Linked DNA regions of Homo sapiens: region 1 is linked to region 2. Evidence: promoter capture Hi-C in 16 types of primary human blood cells and fetal thymus (Javierre and others, 2016). All regions are on one chromosome and are shown on one strand. The core of a region is centred on a gene start or on the middle of the fragment in contact, and the rest is flanking DNA. Distances in the headings are between cores, read along the strand shown.

What was found. Contacts are between HindIII fragments. The CHiCAGO score rates a contact against its expected background, and 5 or more counts as called.
Region 1: the fragment with the promoter of PER3 here is called in contact with the fragment with the promoter of ZBTB48 in region 2 in 2 of 17 cell types (M0 macrophages and neutrophils); the score reaches 6.9 in M0 macrophages.

Annotation. Positions count from the first base shown.
Region 1 is chr1:7,782,848-7,790,361 of GRCh38, reverse strand. It overlaps PER3 (period circadian regulator 3), which reads right to left and starts at 6,071. Exons shown (of 22, transcript NM_001377275.1): 1 at 5,986-6,071; 2 at 5,357-5,708; 3 at 4,776-4,921; 4 at 3,526-3,641; 5 at 2,116-2,317. The coding sequence starts at 5,484. RefSeq lists a silencer at 5,996-6,605. The HindIII fragment of the contact is 8,097 bases long and covers 1,956-7,514 here.
Region 2 is chr1:6,574,791-6,581,243 of GRCh38, reverse strand. It overlaps ZBTB48 (zinc finger and BTB domain containing 48), which reads right to left and starts at 1,250. Exons shown (of 11, transcript NM_005341.4): 1 at 1,108-1,250; 2 at 1-703. The coding sequence starts at 634. TAS1R1 (taste 1 receptor member 1) reads right to left here. Exons shown (of 6, transcript NM_138697.4): 3 at 5,852-6,453; 4 at 4,617-4,829; 5 at 4,174-4,294; 6 at 1,489-2,591. The coding sequence ends at 1,660. LOC107984912 (a long non-coding RNA gene) reads left to right here and starts at 1,811. Exons shown (of 3, transcript XR_002958250.1): 1 at 1,811-1,897. RefSeq lists a silencer at 986-1,115 and an enhancer at 1,167-1,866. The HindIII fragment of the contact is 12,295 bases long and covers 1-6,008 here.

The DNA of each region.
Region 1 (7,514 bases), core at 4,822-7,321, 1.2 Mb before region 2:
CTCGGCTCCCATTCTTCTCCTTCCTGCCATCATGTGTAGAAAGACATGTTTGCTTCCCCTTCTGCCATGATTGTAAGTTTCCTGAGGCCTCCCCAGTCATGTGGAACTGTGAGTCAATTAAACTTCTTTCCTTTATTAATTACCCAGTCTCAGATAGTTCTTTATAGCAGCGTAAGAATGGACTAATACAGAAGGGAAATATCGCAGTAATCAGTAATCAGCAAAAATGAAAAGGCTGAAAAGCCACAGGCAGTGCTGAAGGAAAAATACCTGGGGAAAAAATGGGAAAGACCTGGCAGACAATATTGTGTATGTCCTGTTCACAGCTGTATCTGTATCCGGACTAGTTCTTGACCCACGTGATTATTAAATAAATGTTTACGGAATGAACAGCTAACAAAAGCAGAGAAACAAATACAGACAAAGGTTGAAAATGTGTATTTAGGAAAGGGGATGAGAAATAAAATCAGTATTTTTGAAAGATGGGAAAAGAGATGAGCTAGAAGCAAGCAGGGATGACATGCATGTTTTCTAGAGCTTATGTAAAAATATTTTTAAAAGATGGGGCAATCTATAATTGGAAGAAGAAACACGCAAAGCTACCCTTCATTAAATTAACTACTGGGTAAAAAATTAGAAATAGTAGATAGAATTTCAGATATAAAGATGAAAAAGTTATGGAGATCTGTTTCACAACAATGTAAACATCCTTCACAGCAATGGAGTGAATGCCTAAAAATGATTAAGATGGTGTATTAGGTCCGTTTGCATGCTGCTGATAAAGACAGACCCAAGATTGGGCAATTTACAAAAGAAAGAGGTTTAACGGACTTACAGTTCCACGTGGCTGAGGAAGCCTCACAATCACGGCAGAAGGCAAGGAGGGGCAAGTTACATCTTACATGGACGGCAGCAGGCAAAGAGAGAGAGCTTGTGCAGAGAAACTCCCATTTTTAAAGCAATCAGATCTCATGAGACTTATCCACTATCACGAGAACAGCATGGGAAAGACGCCCTCATGATGCAATTATCTCCCACTGGGTTCCTCCCACGACACATGGGAATTGTGGGAGTTACAATTCAACATGAGATTTGGGTGGGGACACAGCCAAACTATATCAGATAGTAAACTGTATGTGTTTTTTACTACAATGAATTTTTTTTTTAATTAGAGAGAAGGGCTTGGAATCAAAGAGAACGCTGATATATATATATATATATTTTAAAGCTCTTTAAGAGACACTTCACAAAGAATATAAAATAATGAAGGATGACTAAAAAGAAATAAATTAAGATCACACAGGACTGAATGTCACAAAGAAAACTGCAATAGGCATCTTTGAATTATGAAAGAAAAGCATTCCAGAAGGAAAACAAAGTAATAAGACTCATAAGTTTCAGGGGCAAGAAAAACTGTAAGAGAGCTAATGATCTGAATTTTTTTTTTTTTTTTTCCCCAGAAACAGTTTCACGCTTGTCGCCCAGGCTGGAGTGCAATGGTGTGATCTTGGCTCACTGCAACCTCTGTCTCCCGGGTTCAAGTGCTTCTCGTGCCTCAACCTCCTGAGTAGCTGGGATTACAGGCATGCACTACCATGCCTGACTAATTTTTGTACTTTTAGTACAGATGGGGTTTTACCATGTTGGCCAGGCTGGTCTGGAACTCCTGACCTCAGGTGATCCACCTGCCTCAACCTCCCAAAGTGCTGGGATTACAGGCGTGAGCCACCTTGCCCAGCCTAATGATCCAAATTTTATCTCCAAAGTAAAATTTCTCATACAAGGAAATCATGAAGGAGGAAAAACATTTAATTTTAACTTAAAGGAAACAGAGCCTTCATAGCAACTAAACCACTATACAATACGCTGGTAATGAAATAATATTTATGACATATCATCTGTGAAACAGATGTGACAAAATGGAAACAAACGTATTGAGTATGTTATCAGAAGCTTTTAAAATGCTGTTTTCATCACGTGACTTTCTATAACAGGAATAAGAAAAACCAGATAGTGTGCATGTTCTAAATAATATGTTAATTTCTGTACTATTCCTGTAAGAATGAAACTGATCTTGATGAGGAAAGATAGACATCTGAACATTGGTCCTGTTACCTCTTTGGGTCCAGTTGTTCCAGAAAGGAAGCTGAGCTCTGGCAGTGTGCGCGTAGAATACCCTCATGTCTTGAGGTGCAAGCAGGTCAACAAAGTGAGAAGACGCCAGGACATCTTTCTTACGATTCAGGATCAAAGCAGCCTGTTCAGAAATGTGCACTAACCTTCCAGACAGAAATGAAAATACTGCCACAAAGGTATCCTATGAAAAACATTTAAAATAAATGCAAATATTGAGATACTCACTAGCAATATTCCCTGAAAGGTAAATTTCTTCTGGATCTCTAACATGACCAGTATCTTAAAATACACAGGCACAACCTACAAATGCAACAAAACTCCTCAAATAATTTTCTCCAACATGCTTCTTAAATCTTCTCCTAAGACCTGCACTTCACCTACTGAAGGTTCAATTTCTATGCCAAAAAATATACTAGCTTATTCTATGCAGACTAAAATACGTATGGCACATAACTTCTCTGCAAACTGTGCCATACACCTGGGTGGACGGTGTTCTCGTCATCAACGCAGATTCTATGCTTTAAGACACACTGAAGATTCACCTTCTTCAAGAAGCTGTCCTTGACAAACCTCATTACATAAGCATCACTGCTCTAATTTTTTCCATTACACATAAATGAAACTTATTTATAATCAGCAGTTTGTGTTTGCTAGCATTGGCATACTTTCCTCTCTAGCTTTATTTTAAATATCTTAAAAGACAAATATTTTCTTAAGCTATTTTTAAAAATCTCCATAGCACCTCCTACAGTACTATGTACACACCAGTCCATAAAATAAGCACTGTTATAATACTAGGGATTGCGCACGTTCCACTATTACAAAATCTTTAAGTAACAATTATGTTACTTAAAATAAGTAATCTCCACCGTATCAACCAAACATGAAGATTACTCTGTCAAACAAGAAGAGAGATTAAAAAAGATATACTAAAGGTCTCTTCCAAAATTTTAGGAAAAATGACAGCATCTCAACTCACCTGTTCTATAACATCCAGTTGTTACAACTTGAAGTAGTAGGTATTGGAACTAAGAATGATATAAATAGAAATTAACAATTCGGAGATTAGAATAAGGTGCAGGAAATTACTCTGCAGTGTAATTTTTGTTTTCTCTTAATTCAAGAGAGCTTGGGAATGCTAAGGAGCTAGAAGCACCTCATAACCAAAGTCACTGAGCTGCACAGCACACAGAACGGGCTGCTTCTGCTTTTAGATGTTTTCTCTGGCAAGGGCGGAGAAGCTACACCATGCCTCTTTAGCAGTTCCTCCTTTGCTTCTCTCAAATTGTGGTTGCTGAAACGTTGTTATCCTTCTTAAAAGCCTACATCTAGAGCAGGCCCTTAGGAAAAGTCACCCAGGTTGATATGGCAAAATGCATGAATTCTTACTGTGTTTTTGGAAGTGTGTTCTGAAGCGATAGTGGCCAGCTCCTCAAGACTGTACATGCTCACATCTGCCTGAGGTGCTCCATTCTGACTGAGAATCTGGAAAAACTCACTGTTTGCTAAGAAACACAGGGAGATAAACAGGTAGTCCAGTGACAACAGTATCTTTAGGAAACCATTTCATCACTATCAAGCTGGATTATTTTTTTCGGATGAGAACACCTCAGTGCATTTTTCTCAAAAACAGATCATTTTCTGCTTTTACCTAAAATACTGATAGTTGTGCAAACTTAAGATTTGATTTTATGAATTCTGCATGTTCTGGATCACAGGAAGCAAGATACATTTAAGGTACTAACTAAAAATTTCAGATGCATACACAATTTTTTTGCGGGGGGAGCAGAAACAGTACTCTGTCATTCAGGAACATATCATATATGAAGCACTGAGGTTTGTGCTAAAGAGAATATGGCTTTAATGAAATCCCTGGAAATGTCAGAGAGAAAAAGTGTTTACAATGGTTCATTTTTAGTTTGGTAAATTCCTGATATATCATTACTGCATTTTTATCATTATTATTTTTTAGAGACAGAGTCTCGCTCTGTCACCCAGGCGGGAGTGCAGTGGCGTGATCTCGGCTCACTGCAAGCTCCGCCTCCCGGGTTCACGCCGTTCTCCTGTCTCAGCCTCCCGAATAGCTGGACTACAGGCGCCCGCCACCACACCCGGCTAATTTTTTGTATTTTTAGTAGAGACGGGGTTTCACCGTATTAGCCAGGATGGTCTCGATCTCCTGACCTCGTGATCTGCCCGCCTCGGCCTCCCAAAGTGCTGGGATTACAGGCGTGAGGCACCGCGCCCAGCCTCATTACTGCATTTTGAAAGTATGTGTACGGCATGTAAAGGTAACTATTTCGTGGAATGCATTTTTTTCCCATAACTTCCATAGAAGACAATATTTCTTTAAAAGGTCAGCCTTCAAAATGTGCTTATGCTAAACTCTACTCTCTTGCAACACATGAGCAAAACATTGCATAGGTATTATACACTATTATACAGATAAAGTTTTCCTGGTCTTTCACATGTGAACAATTAAGACACGAATGGAATCGGTGTAGATTTGCTCATCTTCCACAAAGCACCAGAAAAAGCTCAAATTATTTGTCTGACTGAGACCCCACTGACCACTCCTCTGGCTGCTTGTATGAGTCCTGGTGCATTCGTAGGATGAAATTTCTCTCCGGCTTGTTTACCTTGAACGCTGTGGACACAGCGGAGAGCATAGTTGAGGGCATCTAGAGTGCTTGGTTTATTGCGTCTCTCCGAGGGGAAGTATTTTTTCATTTCTTGGACAACCATGATAAGTTCTTCAGAAACTCTGTTTCGATCTTGCTGTTCACTGGAAGATAAAAAAAAATTACAACTTCATCCTCTGAAGACAACAGCATCTTGCGGCTTAGGGAACACAAACTGCAAGCCAGGTAAGTTTCTAAGTGCTCTACCGGCATCAGTCCACAGGGTGGTGACCCCTCTTCCTCTAGGTGGGGAACTCGAGGCAAAGCAACTGGTGAATGACAAACATTCTCCACTTACTTTCCCTTAATCCACTTGAGCCCCAACTCAGCTAACTTTTGTAACCACTTTTCCCTCCTGATACTCTTCGGTAATTTTCTTCAGTGTCACGGATCACTTCATCCTACATTGCCCGAGTCTCCCCTTTACACTTTCCCCTGGGCTTGAAAACAAAAGAATAAAAAGATTTAGGTCCCCCTTTCCCTGCTCCAGGGAAGGACAACGAACGCATGGGGCCCTCGGCCTGAAGCCAGCGCGTCACCTGTGGCTGCTGTCCGCCAATTTCCTCTGCAGATGGAACTCGGGGCTCCACCGCTCCCCCGATTCTTCGCCCAGGGCCTCGTCCTTAGCCCCCCGTCTCCCGGGGCCAGGAGCTTCCCCGCGGGGCATCTCGAGGTCTCCGCGGGGCTCCACGTCGTGCTGGGACGGCCCGCAGCCTGCTTCTCGCTCACTTTGCAGTCAGTGACAGACACCGGTTTCTCACTCCGGTCCCCGCCATGGCGTTAGTGAGAACAGGCGGCCACCACGAGCCAGGGGGTCACGCTCATCTCCGAGGAGCTTTTCCCTCCAACATTTTCAAAACCCGGAGCTCGCTCGACTTTCAGGACTCCGGCCTAGGGGGAGGAGACAAGGGTGACAAGGGACAAATGGAACAGACAGTCCGACGCCAGCGGCCCGGCTGGCTGGGGCGCCCCGACCGCGCGGTCCTCACCCCTGCCCCAACTTTCCCGCGCGCCGAGGGATGGGGCCCGGGGAGGCGGGTGGCTCGGAAGCGCCACGCTCCGGGGGCCCCCAGTACCGAGGGCAGGGCTCGCGGGGCTCCTCTGCCGCGCGCGAGTGCCCAGAACTCCCGCCCGGCCGCCCAGAACTCCCGCCCGGCCGCGCACTCACCTGCTGCCCCCGCCCTTGGCCCCGCGCACAGCCGCTCGCCCCCGGGGCCGCCCTCGCGCAGTCTCGAGGCTCGCCGCGTGCCGGTCAGCAGCCGGCGCCGCGCCCCCTGCCGCCGCGTGACCGGTCCCGCCCCCGGGCCGTGCGATTGGTCGTCGGGGCCGACTCCGCAGGCCTCCATTGGCCCTGGGGCGGGGCGCGAGCCGGTGCGCCCGGGTTATATAAGCCAGGGCGAGGGGGCGGGGCCCCCGGGGCGCGTTACATAACGCGCGGGCTCGGGCGGAGGCCGGCGCTCGGCCAATCCCAGCAGGCCGGCGGGCGGGCAGGGGACGGGGTGGCCCTCAGCGGCCTCAGGCCTGTGCCGCGCGACTGGAGTGTCCGGCCCCCTGGCACGGCGCCGGGGCGGAGCCGCTGAAGCCAGCGCAGAAATGATAGGGCCAGGAAGCTGCCAGCCACGTGGGGGCGGGACCCGGGCTCTGTGGGGCGGGGCGGGTCCGGCCCAACCTCCACGTGAGAGGCGGGCGGGGAAGGAGAGGGGAGTGAGAGGCGGGGGCAGAGAGGGGCGAGAGGCGGAGTCGGGGGGCTTGAGTCGGGGTCAGGGGGAGGCTGGAAATGGGGACGGATGGGGGCGAGAGGCGGGGACGGGGGGGCGGATGGGAGCGGGGGTGCCGAGAGACGTGGGGAGCGAGAGGCAGGGGCGGGGGGGCGACGGTGTCGAGGGCGGGGGCATTAGAGGGAGGGAGAGGCGGGGACTGGGGGCGAGCAGGGGCGGCTCAGGCCAGCGCTCTGGGGTCGAGTCCTGGAGTTTGTAGGTGGCTCCCGGCTGCCCGAGCGGGTGTGGGGAGGAGCCCAGGGTGGGGCGGGCTGCCGGCAGCGGTCCTCATCGTGCTTTGGCCGTCTTTCTGGGTTCCCACGGTTTTCACCGCCCGTGACCTACCGAGCCCACCCCAACCGCCCCCATCCTCCGCTAACTCTTTCGGTGAGTGGGGTGGACTTGGAGGAACCGGGCCATAAAGCAGCCCTGGTAAAAAGCCCACCCGATTTTTAGAAACAGATTTTTTATTTTTTGAGACAGGGTTTTGCTCTGTTGTCCAGGCTGGATGGAGTGCAGTGGCGCGATTTTGGCTCACTGCAACCTCCGTCTTCTGGGCTCAAGCCAGTTTCCTGCTTCAGCCTCCCGAGTAGCTGGAACTACAGGTGCAGCCACCACACCTGGCTAATTTTTGTGTTTTTGGTAAAGATGGTCTGTGTTAGCCAGGCTGTTCTCAAACTCCTAAGCCCCAGTGATCTGCTGGCCTCGGTCTCCCAAAATGTTGGGATTACTGGCGTGAGCCACTGCACCGGCCCAGAAACAGAATTTTGACGGTGGAACTTAAAACACTTCCCTGCACTTCCTAAAATTAGATTCATTTGGCAACTGGAGGAAGACAAACGTAAAAGACACTCTGTTTCAGAAAAGAAGTTGTAGAGCCCTTTAAAAAAAATGTCTGAAAGCTCAGTTTAGTATCTCAACATGTTAGAAATGAAAGGTA
Region 2 (6,453 bases), core at 1-2,500:
CTTTGCAGTCCTCGGGTTTCTTGTCCTCAAGGGGACAAGGCTTCAAGGCCTGCTTCAGTTTCCCACAGAGGGAGGAGGGGCCCTCACTCTGAGCTGGGGAATGGAGCTGGGGCCTCTGAGGACTATGACTGCCTCTGGGCTCCTGATCCCTGGGGACTAGACCCAGAGTCCTCGAAACTTCCTCTTCTTCCAAGCCTGCCGGCTCCTTGACGTGGCTGTTCACATTCTGGGAGGCAGGGGGCCCCAGCCCACTCTGGCCACCTGCTGCCTGTCCCACTGAAGTTTTGGGCTTGAAGCTCTGGCACAGCTCTACGGCCTCTGGCACTCGCAACTCCCTGGCTGCCAGGAGCACCTGATCCCGGTTCCCTGAGGTGAGAGCGAGGTGACCAGTGTAGAAAAAGTCCAACAAGAGGCCAAAGATCTCAGCGAAGCCAGCAGGGAGGACGACACTGCCCCCTGAGCCATCCCCGTAGAGGCTCTGGAAAAAGTGACTGCAGCAGGCAAGGACACTCCAGTGTGCCTTAAACACCAGGCCCCCCACGTCCAGAGTGGCGTCGCAGTACTGGCCCTTCTCCCGCTGCTTGTTGAGCTCCTGCAGAACCCTCACACTGTGCTGGACGAAGGAGCCGTCCATGGTCTGGAGGGCAGGGAGGCAGAAGTGACACCCCGGCCAGCCTAAGCGAGGGTATGCAAGAGAAAGCTCCTGGAGTCAAGAGAGAGAAACGGGAAGTTGGCCTCTACTCAAATAATCATATTTATCAGCACGAGGGCTTGGGTCAGGGTGAGGGGTGCACGCGGAGGGCTGGAACACACTGACAGCCTCCCGGGGGCCGGGGGCCATATTGGATTGGCCAGGGGGGATGCTGGATGGGGGGCCAGGGTCGTGAAGAAGGGCCTGGTGAGAAAAATCCAAGTTTGGGGAAAGGAGACATGGGATGAGAGCGAACGGACTGGCCCGGCACAGTGAGAGGATCCCGGACGGCGGAGGGCGGCAGCCGGGGACAGGTGAGCGAAGCCCACGCCGCGCCCACAGGTCCCGAGCGGCCGAGCGGAAGGCAGCCACGGCGGCCCGCAGCCCCTCCCTCCCTCACCCCGCGCCCTCCTCACCCAGGCAGGTCCTCCCTGAGCTGGCCCCACTGGCCCCCTGCTCCGTCGCCTCCACAGCCCACGAACCTAGTGCCCGGCTATGCGTACCCCGCCGACAGTGCGGAGACTCCACCGTCTCCGCGCCGGACGTGACGTCAAAGCGTGCAGGCCAGGAGGTGCGCCTCGGAAGCGTAGAGCTTCTAGCTCCGGCCCCCGAGGGCGGGGCCCCGCAGAGAACGGCCAATGGGATGCGGGGACGACGCCTCGCCCTGTTCTTTTGGCGCTGGGCCCGCCTCCGGAGTTGCCTAGCAACGTCAATCTGGGCGGTCAGCCTTTTCCAGGCTCTGGGTTCAGACTTGAATCCGTTACACCTCACACTCTCCCACGACAGGAGACCAGATACGCATTTCACTTCTTTATTGGCAGCCCGGAGCCTGGTCTAGGCTCTCCCAGGCGCTTACACGTCCCAACCCCAGACCGCGATGCCCAAAGACCTCCCGGACACCCCCGGCCTGCTCGACCTTCGACCCTCAGGGCAGAGAAGGCTGCCAGCCGTGCCTGCTGACCCACTGGTCAGGTGGAGCCGCAGCGCCTCGTGTAGTCCTGAATGGAGGCCTGGAAGTGCTCTGTGCTGTTGAGGTCTGGGCGGCAGAGGATCACGTAGCACTTAGGCAGAAAATACCCACCGAAGCCGCTGCTCAGGCTGCTCAGCCCAGCCATCATGTTGGCCGCAGGCAGGTACTTGCCGTCGTAGACGCTGGCCGTGGTGAAGAAGGCGATCCAGGACACGAAGTTGAAGAGCAGGCTGAAGGTGACACATTTGGCCTCGTTGTAGTTCTCTGGCAAGTCCTTACCCAGGTAGCTGCAGGCAAAGGCACTGATGGAGAGGAGGCCATTGTAGAGGAAGGCCAGTATGAAGCCCAGGGAGTTGGTCTCTGTGCACTCAAGCATCACCAGATGGGGGAAGCGCTGGTATTCCCTAGCAGGCAGTGGGGTCCACACCACCAGCCAAGTTAGACAGATAAGCAGCTGGGCCGCTGAGCTGATCATCACAAACAGGCCAGCACCGTGGTTTTGGACCCAGGCGTGGTAGAATGTAGGTACCTTGGTGGAAAACTTGAAGATGATGATTAGTTGGAATGAGCGAACTGTCAGGCAGGACAGGAAGATGGTGAAACCAAGGGCAAAGAGGGCCTGGCGTAGCAAGCACGCAGGCCTTGTGGGTTCCCCAAAGAAGCCATAGAGGCTGCCACTACCTGCTGCCAGGGAGCCCAGCATAAGAAAGCACAGGCGGCCCCCTGCTGACCTCACCACAGGGGTGTCTAGGTGCCAGGCAAACAGGCCAGCAGTCCCAAGCAGCAGCAGCAGCAGCAGCGTGTTAGCTGCCAGCAGCACCCAAGAGGTGTGCTCACGCAAAGCCAAAAACACCACAGTGCGCGGGAAGCAGGTCTGGCTTCCCTCAGGTGCCCACTCTTCTTTCCCACAAGGCTGGCATCTGTAGAGGTCTGAAAGGGAAGGCCAAGAAGGTTCCTGAGAGCCAGATGAGCAGAGTAGGAATAGGAAATAGGGGCCTGCAAGATACTGGGAGAATTGTACCAGGGCAGCTAGACTATACTAGGCATAGTGGGATGGGGGTAGCCGGGAGTGGGGCCTGAGGCCACGCATTTCCTCAAAATGCCTGTGTTAATTACAGACTCTGGAGACACACAGGTCGGTTCTGTATGGCTCATGATCCCATGAGGGTTTTGCAAACCCTAGGGAGGACCTTAACCTGGTAGCTCTGCCCACATACCAGAGAGGTTACGATCTGATGGGAGCAGCCTGCTCCCAAGGGAGGGCATTGTAACCCCTCTCTCTTGCCAGCATTTCCATGAACCACTTTCCTGAGCTGCTGCTCTGTGGTTTCTCTGAGTCCTGACCCTCTGAGGACAGAAGGGAAGTATTCCTGTCCCTACAGAGATGGTGAAAGGAAAGAATGTGGCCCCTGGACACCAACTAAGGACCTGAGTCCTTAGCTACCTAATTTGCTCTCTGTTCTTGACCTTGCATTTCTGGATGGGGAATGCTGTTTTTTTCTCTGCTGCAGACACGCTAGTATCTGTATTCAGGCCAAGCTGTTCAAGGAGCTAGCTGTCTTTGGCATGGGCAACAGAAGGGACAGTAGGACAAGAGGGCACAAAGGGAACAATAGCTATATTCATTTAGAGAAAGAGGTTGAATTCAGGATACGACTGCTTTTGTAGGAGTTGTGATGACAGCTCTCTAACAGAGGACACACCTCAGTCTAAGGCTTTCAGTTGGCTAATTCTTTCTTTCTTTCTTTTTTTTTGAGACAGAGTTTTTCTCTTGTCGCCCAGGCTGGAGTGCAATGGTGCAATCTTGGCTCACTGCAACCTCCGCCTCCCGGGTTCAAGCAATTCTCCTGCCTCAGCCTCCCGAGTAGCTGGAATTACAGGCACACGCCACAACGCCCGGCTAACTTTTTTTGTATTTTTAGTAGAGATGGGGTTTCACCATGTTGGTCAGGCTGGTCTCGAACTCCTGACCTCAGGTGATCCACCCACCTCGGCCTCCCAAAGTGCTGGGATTACAGGTGTGAGCCACCGCGCCCGGCCTCCTTTCTTTTTTTGGGGGGACGAATTCTCGCTTTGTGGTCCAGGCTGGAATGCATCTTGGCTCACTGCAACCTCCGCCTCCTGGGTTCAAGTGATTCTCCTGCCTCAGCCTCCCGAGTAGCTGGGATTACAGGCACGCGCCACCACACCCAGCTAATTTTTTATATTTTTGGTAGAGATGGGGTTTCACCATGTTGGCCAGGCTGGTCTCGAACTCCCGACCTCAAGTGATCCACCCGCCTCAGCCTCCCAAAGTGCTGGGATTACAGGCATGAGCCACCGCACCCAGTGGCTGATTCTCTTGATCAGAATTCTGTCTGGTAGCAGGTGTCCTCCAACCTGAAGCTAACTGGCAGCCCAGTGACTGGGCCTTGGTTCTGGGGCAGGGCACATGGGGCCCAAGGGAGGCCCTCCCTCCACCGTGCAGCCCCCGGGAGTGCTGGGTAGCTCGCCTGCTCCATTGCCCACTCACCACTCTTGTTGAGGAAGGTCCCAGCCCCACAGGGCACACACTCAAAGCAGCAGTGATGGAAACCCGTAACCACTCGCTGGTGCCCTTCAAGACAGTCGCTGGAACACACAGACTTAGGCACCTGTAAGAAGCCAGAGGGGCCACACGTAGGGGCCCAAGTCAAAGGACAGCTCACATGTGGAACAGAAAACAGAATCTCTGTGCATCTGCCCTCAGGGCTCACTCCCAGGGCAGGGCCCCTGGTCGTGTGAACTTCCGCCCCAGGGCATCTGCACACTCGCCTACGGAGTGTCTTCCCTGCTTCCCTGGCCAGGATGGGTAGAGTGGTGGCAGCTGGACCCCTGGGGCCCCCCTCCTGCTCCCTGTACACTGTGTCAGCATCACCCCCAGGCTCTAGGTTGCCCATAAGCCAGTTACATGGTGAGTAGCCACATCCCCATTACCTGGTTGTCCTTTCCGTGCCACTGGATTTTGGTCTCATTTATGTTTAGCTGAACTGGAGACCATGTGGAGGAACCGAGGACCGTGAAGGTCCACTTGGGTCCATTCCAGTCCCAGGCAATTATGTTATAGCTACTGAGGGGATCTCTGTTGTCATTAAACGCCACAGTGTCCTTGTGTAGAAGGAAATGCACCTTGTGGATCTGCTCCAAAAGCTGAAAGAAACGCGTATCATGAAGCCACCACAGACAGCACAGACCCACATGGTCCCAGAAGCAAGGGCCTGGGGCCTTCCTGGGTTTCCGTCCTGGTGGTTTCAGCCCATCAGGAAGGTCTCGTCCCTTCCTTCTTAGGAAGCCCCTCAATCTTCCCCACCAACCTCCTGAGAGGAGGCCTCTAACAAACACTCCTTTACAGACAGTTTTAGCCCTGGATCTTATCACTTGACACTTCCAAGACACAGTGGGTGAGAGAAGGCAAGGATCAGAGAGAAAGATCTGTCTAAGAGAAGAGAGCTAATGCCTGTAATCCCAGCACTTTGGGAGGCCGAAGCAGGAGGATCACTTGATGCCAGGAGTTCGAGACCAGCCTGGCCAACATGGTGAAACCCCATCTCTACTAAAAATACAAAAATTAGGCCGGGTGCGGTGGCTCACGCCTGTAATCCCAGCACTTTGGGAGGACGAGGTGGGCGGATGACAAGGTCAGGAGATTGAGACCATCCTGGCTAACATGGTGAAACCCCGTCTCTACTCAAAATACAAAAAAAATTAGCTGGGCGTGGTGGCGGGCGCCCGTAGTCCCACCTACTTGGGAGGCTGAGGCAGGGGAATGGAGTGAACCTGGGAGGCGGAGCTCACAGTGAGCCAAGATCGCACCACTGCATTCCAGCCTGGGCAACAGAGCGAGACTCTATCTCAAAAAAAAAAAAAAGAAAAGAAAAATTATCCAGGCATGGTGGTGGGTGCCTGTAATCCCAGCTACTCAGGAGGCCGAGGCAAGAGAATCACTTGAACCCAGGAGGTGGAAGTTGCAGAGAGCCGAGATCGCATCACTACACTGCAGCCTGGGTGACAGAGCCAGACTGTCTCAAAAAACAAAACAAAACAAAACAAAAAACCTCAAGTTAGTGGCATTTATCCCCCTTGGCATTTAGAGTGACCGGAGAGTGCCCACTCTGCTCATCTCAGGATTGGCTGTTCTCCCTGACAGGAGGTGCTGGGGTGGGCTCTCTTACCTGCCAGGGGTAGACTCGGCCCCTGGAACAAGCTCCAGAGGCACAGCCCAGGAGCTGGTGGAGGCCATGGGCCACCGCATACACAGCCCGGTATGCGTTGTAGGCAGAACTCATGGAGAAGGCTTTGAGCTTGGGCATCGTGTGTGCCATGAAAGCTTGGCATTCTCTGCAGAGCTGATTGCTGCTGCACCAGGAGCCCTTGTGGCAAGGCCTAGGGGCCTTCTTGTCTGCCCGGGCATAGGCTTCTTCAAACGCCTTCAGGCCAGGGACAGCCCTCTTCTGGATGGCCACGCCCAGCACCATCCCAATGCGCTGGATCCCGGGCACCCCAGTGATGTGCCTGGAGAGGGCCCAGGCTTCTGAGGCGACCCACACCTTGCCAGTCAGGTTGGTCAGCACCACGGACTCGAAAAACACCCTGGCCAACTGCCGGCTGGAAAAAACAACCACGACGGTGGCCCCGGCCTGGGCCAGGTGGCGCATGAGGCACTGCATCCTCTCATCGCCCACCTGGGCAGAGAAGGGCATGATGTCCTTGAAAGCAATGCAGATCCCCTGACCAGTGGCCTGGTTCTCCAGTGCCTGCACCCCTAGCTGCCCAT